2 separate regions of the Homo sapiens genome follow, and region 2 is linked to region 1. The links are contacts of gene promoters, found by promoter capture Hi-C in human tissues and cell types (Jung and others, 2019). All regions are on one chromosome and are shown on one strand. Each heading gives the region's core, a stretch centred on a gene start or on the middle of the fragment in contact. The rest is flanking DNA. Distances are from core to core; before and after follow the strand shown. Region 1 holds the start of CYP2F1 (cytochrome P450 family 2 subfamily F member 1). Region 2 overlaps CYP2B6 (cytochrome P450 family 2 subfamily B member 6).

What was found. The method cuts DNA at HindIII sites, captures the fragments that hold promoters and counts their contacts. A contact is called where the count stands out against the background at its distance.
Region 2: a fragment that was not itself captured here is called in contact with the fragment with the promoter of CYP2F1 in region 1 in 3 of the 25 tissues and cell types used here (H1 embryonic stem cells, bladder and liver).

Annotation. Positions count from the first base shown.
Region 1 is chr19:41,110,664-41,116,074 of GRCh38, reverse strand. It overlaps CYP2F1 (cytochrome P450 family 2 subfamily F member 1), which reads right to left and starts at 1,643. Exons shown (of 10, transcript NM_000774.5): 1 at 1,583-1,643. The HindIII fragment of the contact is 13,902 bases long and covers 1-5,411 here.
Region 2 is chr19:41,011,848-41,017,258 of GRCh38, reverse strand. CYP2B6 (cytochrome P450 family 2 subfamily B member 6) reads right to left here. Exons shown (of 9, transcript NM_000767.5): 7 at 4,774-4,961; 8 at 4,444-4,585; 9 at 1-613. The coding sequence ends at 432. Among named protein-coding and RNA genes, the nearest start is that of CYP2B6, 23 kb to the right of the region's middle. The HindIII fragment of the contact is 4,745 bases long and covers 870-5,411 here.

The sequences.
Region 1 (5,411 bases), core at 394-2,893:
GAGAGAAGGAGACAGGGAGAGGCCAGGGGATGGGGAAGGGAGGGAGAAAGGAGGAAAGAGGCAGAGATAGTCAACATATAGACAGATAAGGAGACAGAAACACAGAGACATAAATGGAGAGAGGCAAGTGATAGAGGAACAGAGACTAAGAGAGGCCAAGAGATATGCATAAAGATAATGAGAGAGACAGAAAAACAGTGAGCGATCTACATATCTACAGATGTCTGTCTACCTATCAGCCATCTATCATCTATCACTCTTTCTTTCCTTCCTTCCTTCCTTTCTTTTTCTTTCTTTCTTTTTTCTTTTTCTTTCTTTCTTTGTTTCTCATCTATTATCTAACATCTATCAACATCTATCTATCATCTATCTATCTATCTATCATCTATCATCTGTCTATCCATCATCTATCTATTCTTCTATCATCTATCATTGATCTGTCTATTATCTATCATCTATTATCTATCTATATCTATCATCTATCTACTATCTTCATAATCTATCATCTGTGTATCATCTGTCTATTATCTATCTATCATCACCTGTCTGTCAAGAGACTGTCATACAGAGACAGTGATAAAGAGAGATCAAGACACACAGGGACAGAGACAGACAAACACAGAGATAGGGAGAGCCAGAGAGCACATCACAGAAAGAGAGAGGCTGACATAGACTAGAGAAAGAAAGAGACAGAACTAGACAGACACAGAGCTAGAGAAAGACAAGGGAGATTGAGTGGAGAGACAGTGAGATGGACACTGACTGAGAGACAGAGAGGGACATGGAAGGATGGAGAGAAAAAGGGTAAGAGGGACAGAGAGAGGGAGAGACAGAGCTAGACACAGAGACTGAGGGAGACGAGAATGACAGACAGAAACAGATACACAAAGACAGAGTCACATAGACAGAGATGGAGAGAGAGAGAGAGAGAATAAGAGAGGCAGGGAATATTAGAGCCACACAAAGAGACGGGTAGGCTGCAAAGGGCAGACCAAGAGAGACTGAGGCCGGGCACGGTGGCTCACGCCTGTAATCCCAGCACTCTGGGAGGCCGAGGCAGGCGGATCACTTGAGGTCAGGAGTTTGAGACCAGCCTGGCCAACATGGTGAAACCCTGTCTCTACTAAAAACACAAAAATTAGTCAGGCGTGGTGTTAGGCACCTGTAATCCCAGCTACTCAGGAGGCTGAGGCAGGAGAATCGCTTGAACCCAGGAGGTGGAGGTTGCAGTGAGCTGAGATTGAACCACTGCACTCCAGCCTCAAAAAAAAAAAAAAAAAAAAAAAGAGAGAGAGAGAGAGAGAAAGAGACGGAGACAGAGAGGAAGGGCACAGGCAGAAACAGTGACAGGAAAAAATCAAGTGTTGCCAACCATGGGGTTGCATTGCAGAGAGAGAAGCCACCTACTTGGTGAAGCACCAGTAAAGAAATCCCAGTGCTCAGAACAGGGACATGAGAGCTCTCAGAGGAAACAGCAAAAAAGATTCCTAGCCAGTCTCAGAGACAGAGATTGGAGCTGGCGACCCACCCTCTCTTGGGAGACACCCCCTCCTTCTCTGCCTCCCTCACCGGGGCCCTTTACCTGCTGAGCTGCAGGAGACACTGGCTGGGATGCGCTAGAGCCTGCAGCTCTGGGTGTGCTTGGGGGGTGGTGGGGCAGAGGTTGTTCTTAAGTTGTTTCTGCCCACACCCTCCTCCTTAACCCCACTTTTCTTGTTCTCGCTGTGAACTTTAAATCCCTCCCATCATCTTGCCATACCTTTCCTGCGGCCCTAGGGCTCACAGCCAGCTGGAAAGGTGCCGTGGGAGGGGGCTGCGCCTGGGGGCCCTCCTGGGATGGGGCAAAGCTTTCTTTCTTTCTTTGTTTTTTTTTTTTGCTTTGCCAGTTGGAGCCTGGGCCTGGTTTTGGGGTAGTCATGGGGCTGTCGCAAAATGATGGGCCAGGGATGGGGGCTGGGTTCCTTTGGTATTTGGGGCACTTGTTTCTTTTTCTCTGGGTTCAAGTCCATTTCTGCCACTGATGGGCCGAGTGGCCCTGGCTAAGTCCCTTTCCCTCCAGAGCTGGAGTTTTCTCTTTCTCTGGAAGCCTATTTTTTCATAGTTCTCCATGCTGTTCCCTGTCTCTTGCCGTGGGTCTCTGAAATGCTCTGTGTCTTGCTTTGCTTCTGCCTCTACAGTCTCTGCCTCTGAATCTTTTTGTCTCTCTGTGTCTCTGTCTCTCCCTCCTTTGGTGTCTCTGGGTCTTCATTTCTTATGCTCTCTGGGCTTTCTCCTTCTCTCTGCTTCTCTCCCTGATCTCCCTGTAAGTCCCTCTCAGTCACTGTCTCCTGATCTCTCTGGTCTCTCACTCTCTCTATCTCTCATGTCTCCACGAGTCAGACTGCACTTGGTGGGACTGAAGCCAAGCTGAGGCTGAAGGAGTGTTTAAGAAAAGGGCAGAGCTGGAAGCCACAGGGAAAAAGCCTCTCAGACTAGAATGACACTCTCTCCCACCACTGGCTCATAAACAGCCCTCCTCCTGCCCTCCTGAGCACCCTACTAGCCATGTCTACTCTCAGCTCCTGCCTTAGAAACTCACCCTAGTAGGCCAGGCGCAGTGGCTCACGCCTGTAATCCCAGCACTTTGGGAGGCCGAGGTGGGTGGATCACCTGAGGTCAGGAGTTCAAGACCAGCCTGGCCAACATGGTGAAACCCTGTCTCTACTAATAATACAAAAATTAGCCAGGCATGGTGGCTCACGCCTGTAGTCTGAGCTACTTGGGAGGCTGGGGCAGGAGAATCGCTTGAACCCGGGAGGTGGAGGTTGCAGTGAGCTAAGAACATGCCACTGCACTCCAGCCTGGGCAACAGGGTGAGACTCGGTCTCAAAAAAAAAAAAAAAAAAAAAAGAAGAAGAAACTGGCCCTAGTTACCCACCTCCTGGCCAGGTCACAAGGGCAGAATGCAAAACCTGGAGCTGGGCCAGGGCTCTGGTGCCAGGGGCTAGGCTGGGTGGAGAGCCCCTGCGGTCAAGGGTCTGGGAGGCCAGGTGGAGGTGTGGGTACCCCCACAGGTTCGTGGGTGTGCACCAGGATTGCTGTTCTCAGAGGGGCAGAGGAGGAAGTGTTTGGAGGTCCTGGGGAATTTGACACCCTAGGTCCCAGGCATATGGTGGGGTGGAGGTGGGGCCCATGCTGTTGTTTCAGTCCTGGATAGGCCGGTTGGGGCAGGTCCTGGAAGAGGGCTGAAGGCTTGATGATGGGATTATATAGCTCTAGTTTCCCTTGGCGTCTACTCCCTACTTTTAAGGGGAGGGTGTAGTGCTGTATCCACGCCAACCCTGTAAGCAACTTATCCCTCACCCTAGAACTTGGTTAAGAGGGGCCTAATGAGGCTGGGCGTGGTGGCTCATGCCTGTAATCCCAGCACTTTGGGAGGCCGAGGTGGGTGGATCACCTGAGGTCAGGAGTTTGAGACAGCCTGACCAACATGGCAAAACCCTGTCTCTACTAAAAATACAAAAAAAATTAGCCAGGCGTGGTGGTGCTTGCCTATAATCCCAGCTACTCAGGAGGCTGAGGCAGGAGAATCACTTGAACCCGGGAGGTGGAGGTTGCAGTGAGCTGAGATTGTACCATTGCACTCCAGCCTGGGCAACAAGAGTGAAACTTTGACTCAAAAAAAAGAAAAAAAAAGAAAAAAAAGATGGGCCTAATGGGACCACCTGATTGGGGAAACTGGGATTTATGGGAAGGGCAGTTAGTTAGTTTGTTTTGACACAGGGTCTCACTCTGTCACCCAGACTGGAGTTTAGTGGTGTGATCATAGCTCATTGCAGCCTCGATCTCCTGGGCTTAAGGGATTCTCCTGCCTCAGCTTCCCAAGTAGCTGGGACTACAAGCACGCATCACCACACCTGGCTAATTTTTAAAATTTTTAGTAGAGATGAGATCTAGCATGCTATGTCACCCAGTCTGGTCCCCAACTCCTGGGCTCAAGCGATCCTCCCACCTGGGCCTCTGGGGATTACAGGCGTGAGCCACCATGTGTGGCCGAGAAGGGGGGTTTTAAGAGGCTTTGAGTTCTGTTATTCTGACTTGCTCTCCTGCTACAGAGGGAACTTGGGGCAAGGAAGGGATGTATTGCAATTTCTCAACTCACTGCTGTTGATGTCTTGGGCCTTCATGGGTGGTGGGGGCTGCATCCTGTGTGTGGTAGGATGTTTAGCAGTGTCCTTGGTTTCTACTCAGTAGATGACAGAACCCACCCACTCATTCCCTACCAGTTGTTACAAACAAACATGACTCCAGATACTATTGAATGTCCCCTTGGGAGGAAAAAAATCAACCCAGTTGAGAACCGCTGGGGTATTGCAGAAAGCTGAAACACACTCCGTGGTGGAAAAATGCCTCGCCTCTCATTGTCCTCTCTTGGAACTCCCCCCGCCCTATTCCTATCCTTTTGTTCCTGCCTCCTCAAACTCCAAAACCCTCTTCAGTCACCTCACTCTTTGTTGATGAACCCGCTTCTTATCTCACGGAGAGAATGGCAGCAATGGGCAGTAAGCGGGCGCATCCTCCATCATCCTGTCCTCTTGCCCACTGGCATCTGGACGGCACATGCAGCCTTCCTTCCTGCTAGAACCACACAGTGTCCCATGTCAGGCTTAGGTGAGCCCCCTTCTGGTGTGCCAGATCCCATTCCATCGCCAACTGGAGGACTTGATTCTATTTACTGTGTCATAGTTCCTGTGAAGGTGTGTAGATGGAGTTTTCCCTTAACGATTTCTTTAGGTAAAATTTACCTGTGATGAAATACACACATGGTAAGTGAACATTTGCTGAATTTTGAAGGTATCGAAATCCCTGTGAAGATACAGAATATTTTCATCATCCAAGAAAGTTCTCTTGGAGCTGGGCGTGGTGGTTTGTGCCTATAATCCTAGCTATAGGAGGCTGAGGTGGAAGGATCACTAGAGGCCAGAAATTTGAGACCAGGCTGTGCAACATTGCGAGACCCCTGTCTCTACTAAAAAAAAGAAAAAAACAATAGCTAAGTGTGGTGGTGCACGCTTGTAATCCCAGCTACTCAAGGGGCTGAGGTGGAAGATCACTTGCACCCAGGAGTTCCAGGCTACAGTGAGCTATGAACACACCCCTGCACTCCAGCCTGGGTGACAAAGAGAGACTCCCTTCTCTAAAGTAATAATAATAATGAAAAGAGAACCCTCCTTCCTACTCCTTCCTAGTCAACCATGCTCCATCTCTTGTGGGCAACCATTGTTCTAGGTTTTTTTCTCTTCTTTTGAGACAGGGTCTTGCTCTGTCCCCCAGGCTGGAGTGCAGTGGTGTGATCATTGTTCACTGCAACCTTGACCTCCCTGGCTCAAATGATCCCCCGGCCTCAGCCTCCTGAGTAGCTGGAAGTAGAG
Region 2 (5,411 bases), core at 1,993-4,492, 100 kb after region 1:
CCAGCCTGGCCTACACAGTGAAACCCCATCTCTACTAAAAATACAAAAATTAGCCAAGCGTGGTAGTGCATGCCTGTAATCCCAGCTACTAGGGAGGCTGAGGCAGGAGAGTTGCTTGATCCCCGGGGGTGGAGGTTGCAGTGAGCCGAGATCACGCCACTGCACTCCAGCCTGGGCAACAGTGTGAGACTCTGTCTCAAAAAACAAGAACATATATATATATATGATTTTGTATATTATAATTTTCGATAATCTCACTCCTGCACTCACTTGCAATGTGACCTCAGACAACTGGTGCCATGGAGGGGAAGGAAGCTGGCTTGTAGCAGGTCTCTCAGAGGCAGGAAGTTGCGGGGAGTCAGAGCCATTGTCTACAGAGGCGGGGACACTGAATGACCCTGGAATCCTTTGACCCCCTTCCCTCAGCCCCTTCAGCGGGGCAGGAAGCGGATCTGGTATGTTGGGGGTATTTTGCCCACACCACACTCCTGGGGTGTCAGATCGATGTCTTCTGGGGCCACGGGGCTGGCCATGGAGAAGTTCTGGAGGATGGTGGTGAAGAAGAGGAACAATTCCGCACGGGCGATGCCTTCACCAAGACAAATCCGCTTCCCTGTGGACACAGAAGGTCACCAGTGTGGGCACAGGGCAGGTGCATACACTTCGCTCTGCCATGTCCCTAAGCCCAGACACAAATGTCCACTGCAACAGATTTGCATAAGACTGGCCTTTAACCTACAATTCAGGGTGGACTTTTAGGAAGCTGCTCTGAAACCAGATGCAAATCTTTGAGTGGATGTGCCACGTTCATTTCTCTCTCTCTCTTTTTTTTTTTTTTTTTTTTTTTTTTTTTTTTTTTGAGATGGAGTCTCTCTTTGTCACCCAGACTGGAGCACAGTGGCACCATCTTGGCTCACTGCAACCTCCACCTCCCAGGTGGTTCAAATGATTCTTGTGCCTCAGCCTACCAAGTAGCTGGGATTACAGGCACCTGCCACCACGCCTGGCTAATTTCTTCTATTTTTAGTAGACATGGGGTATCATCATATTGGCCAGGCTAGCCTCGAGCTCCTGACCTCAGATAATCCACCTGCCTTGGCCTCCCAAAGTGGGATTACAGGCATGAGCCACTGCACCCGGCGCCATGTTCATTTTTATATAAGAGAGTTTCTAGCTTCTGTTACAGTTCCAAAGGGTTGGTGAAACCCACAGAGTATAATGACCCATTTCTGGTTCTGTGTGTGTGTGTGTGTGTGTGTACCTGTACATGTGTGAGTGTGAGCACATTTATGACAACATTCTTAGTGTTCTTCACTTCTCATATGGGGAGAATGGCACCTCCCTCAAAGGGCTCTTGTGAGGTTAAAGGAGACAATTGTAAAAATTCTTAGAATAGCACTTGGCTTGTGCTAAGGAGGCTTAAGGTTTGGTTACTGCCTTGTGTTTGTTTCTGGGGTATGTGTGGGGTATGTGTTTCTGGCCATGTGTCTGTGTCTGTGTCTCTAGGCTGTCTTCTAGTCTCAGCCTGAGATCCACAGGCTTCAAGAGCTCAAGGGGGGAAAAGCCCAATTGTATATAAATTGTGAATGGGACTGATGCGTATGAGACAGGGAGGGTCTATGGCTTCCACTGATTCTCAGAGGTGCAAGGAACCCCCAGTAGATTCTAAACCACAGATTGGGAGAAAAATAAGAACAAAGGGTGCTGGAAAAAGCTCAGGCAGAGACAAAGGGAGCCTTTCCCTTCACTTCAGTGTTTCATAATCTGCAAACCTTGGAAAGGCCATGTCAAGTGTGAGTTTTCAGGCATTCCCTATGCCTGTCAAGTTGTTGGACAAGTGTGTCTATGTGGAGGTGTTTGGAAAAGTGTCCACATCCCTTTGGCATACCCAGAAGGTGGGTGACATGAGCTTAGAAACAGGCAGGTCTCTGGGCCTGTTCTTCTGTAACTCTTTGTGTGACCTAACATTTTTCACAACAGCCTGAGGCTTATTATCTCCCTCTCATCACGCCCTCCCCATCTCTGGGGCCGTCTGTTTGGACACCTTTCGAATTTCTTTGGCTGCAGTACCCTTTTGGCTTGGGTTATACCTTTCTTTCTGCCCCTGGCAGCCCTACTCCTGTCTTTTTCTCTGTCTATACCTGTCAGACACAGCTTTTCTTCTTTTCCTCTCCTTTTTTTGGCTTTCTTCCATCTTGCTTAACTTCCTATCTCCATCTATTTGAATCTGATTTCTCCCCAATCTCTTTCTCTCTCATTCTTTCTTTTCATCTCCCTCTAAAGATACCTTATTTGTCTTGTTCATTCTTTCTTCCTCTCTTTTTATGTCACTCTCTCTTTTTCCTATCTCTTATTCTGTTTCTCTCCTTTCCCTCCTTTCTCCCCTCCTCCTTCCTTTTCCTACTCTCTCTCCTCTTATTCCTCCTCCTCCTCCTTCTCCTTACGTGACTCTCTCTCTCTCTGTGTCTCTCTCTCTTCCTCTCTGTATACTGTCTGAGGTTTGCCCTCTGTCTTTCTGCCACTGGCTCCCCATCTCTATCTCTATGTGTTCCCTCTTTGTCCCTAACTCTGTTTCTCAGTCTCATTATCTTTGTTACTTATCTGTCTCTGTCCTTATTTCCCTACATCTCTGCCTCTCTTAAAACAAATTAGCAGGCCAGTCGCAGTGGCTTATGCCTGTAATCCCAGGACTTTCAGAAACTGAGGTGGGCATATCACAAGGTCAGAAGATCAGCACCATCCTGGCTAACACGGTGAAACCCAGTCTCTACTAAAAATAAAAAAAAATAGCCAGGCATGGTGGCATGCGCCCGTAGTTTCAGGTACTCGGGAGGCTGAGGCAGGAGAATCACTTGAACCTGGGAGGCAGAGGTTGCAGTGAGCTGTGATCGTGACACTGCACTCCAGCCTGGGCAACACAGGAAGACTCCGTCTGAAGACAAAAAAAAAAAAAGAAACTTCAGATAGCAAAATTGAGAGAAGACATTGACATTCAAGCCATCACCACACATGTTCCCAATTTTCATTGAAGATAAAATGTGGAAGGAGGTCACTGTACTGCGCAAAACCGGGGGCTGGGCCAAACCCTGGATCACTGAAGTCACTGATGAAACTCAAGACTGGGGGTTTGTTTCTGGGGCCTTTCATGGATGGTGCATGTTAAATTCAATTAAATTTGGCCTAAAGCAGCCTCCCTACATAACAAATTGTAATGTAACTCAACATGTAAACAAACTTGAGAGTATATTCTTGTAACAAGTAACCTTGGACAATCAGGGCAGCCAAGCTTCAGCCAGTCACAGGCTACAAGCTGCCCAGACATGCTCAGATAAGGCAAACACAGAGCTGTAACCAATCAGGCTGTTTCAGTACCTCAGTTCCTTTCCCTGTGGATAAATAGTGCCTGACCACATTGCTGGATGGAGCTCTCTGAACCTTTACTGGTTCCTTGTGCTGCCCAATTCATGAATTGTTTCTTTGTTCAGATAGACTCTGCTAAGTTTAATTTGTCTAAAGTTTTTCTTTTAACCAGCCAAAGAGTAGAGGATGAGAACTGGGACAAGTCAGAGCACGTCAAGACCTTTTCCACCTTCCCAGTGCTAGACCATAAATCCAAACTCCTCCTGCAACCTTCAAGGTCCTGCCCAGATGAGCCCTTTGTCTTATTTCCTTCTGCAATCTACACCCAAGGCTCACTGGACTTCCTATAGGTTCTCAATGGTGCCATATCACGTTTCTACCTTTGGCCTTTGTCCTTGCTGTTTCCTTTGCCTGGAACACACTTTGCAATGGTTGATTGATGCTCACCCATGAACATGTTAGCTTGGAAGCCAGTTCCTCTGGTAAGCTTTTCCTTACGGACCCACCACAAGATTAGCTACTATTTCCTATTTTGTGCTCCCAAAGCTCCCTTTAGAGCACTTATCACAATTATGTCTAATTATAATAATAATTGCCCTTGTGAGCATGTCCTTTGTGCCAGGCAGTTCTAAGCATGTTGCAGGCATTCATTCATTTCATGAGATGATTATTTTATTATTATTTGATGAATGCCCATCTTCCCTGCTGGACTTTAAATTTCCTGGGGCAGGAACCCTGTCTCTGTGTGACTTGTTTGATGCATTATCTTCAGCCCCCAGTACAGCACTGGGCTTACAGTGGTGCCCAACAGATTTTTTCTTTTTAAGAAAATGAACTCACTGAGGTTTAGAGATGTTAAAATACTTGCCCAAGGTCCTGCTTGCCAAGATGTGCCTTTGGGAATGTAATCTTCTTTCTCAAGCCTCCTTATAGGGTTGTAGTGAAGATGGAATGGGATAAGGCAGGTGAAGCAATCAGAATATATTAAGTGCTCAAATAATCAGTATCTCTCGTTGTTTTTCTCAAGTTGGGGATAGTACCTGCCCTCTGGTGTCTGGGAAAGAAATTGTGGGTCCAGCTTACCTAAGGAGAAGGGGATAAAAGCTTCAGTCTTTTTCAGTGCCCCATTGGCATCCAGAAAGTGGTCAGGATTGAAGGCGTCTGGTTTTTCAAAGTAGTGTGGGTCATGGAGAGCAGTGCTCAGGATGAGAAATACTTCTGTGTCCTGAGGGAGGATCACAAGATCAAAAGATATTGCCATTCCCTCCAACCCTCCACACACTCCACAAAAAAGAAATACAAAAAACAAAAACAACGGGACTCAATTAAGGAGCTAACAAAAGGTTGAGTTCGGGGATTAAGAGAATCCAGGATGCCCAAACAGGAGGGCTATGGGGTTCCAGCCGGTCTTACCTTGGGGATGATGTACCCTCGGAAGCTGGTGTGTTGGGTGACAATGTGGGGCACACCCATGGGGAGAAGGTCGGAAAATCTCTGAATCTCATAGATGACTGCCTCTGTGTATGGCATTTTGGCTCGGTCATGAAGCTCTGGAGGGCGATGTGGGCCAATCACCTGTTCAATCTCCCTGTAGACTCTCTCTGTACAGAAAAGAAGACCAATGAATCTCATTTTAAAGAGGCATTTCAGGCCAGGCATGGTGGCTCATGCCTGTAATCCCAGCAATTTTGGAGGTTGAGGTGGGTGGATTCCTTGAGGTCAGGAGTTCAAGATGAGCCTGGCCAACATGGCAAAATCCCGTCTCTCCTAAAAATACAAAAAATTAGCTGGGTGTGCTGGTGCACACCTGTATTCCTAGCTACTCAGGAGGCTGAGGCAGGAGAATCACTTGAACCCAGGAGGTGGAGGTTGCAGTGAGCCGAGATCATGCCACTGCACTCTAGACTGGGTGACAGAGCAAGACTCCATCTCAAAAGAAAAAAAAATTTTTTTAAAAAGAGACCTTTCAGCAAGGACACTACTTTCTATTGACCAATGAAAAACCTATAGTAAAGGGTTAGATCCTTGATACCCCTCAAAGTAATCAGCAT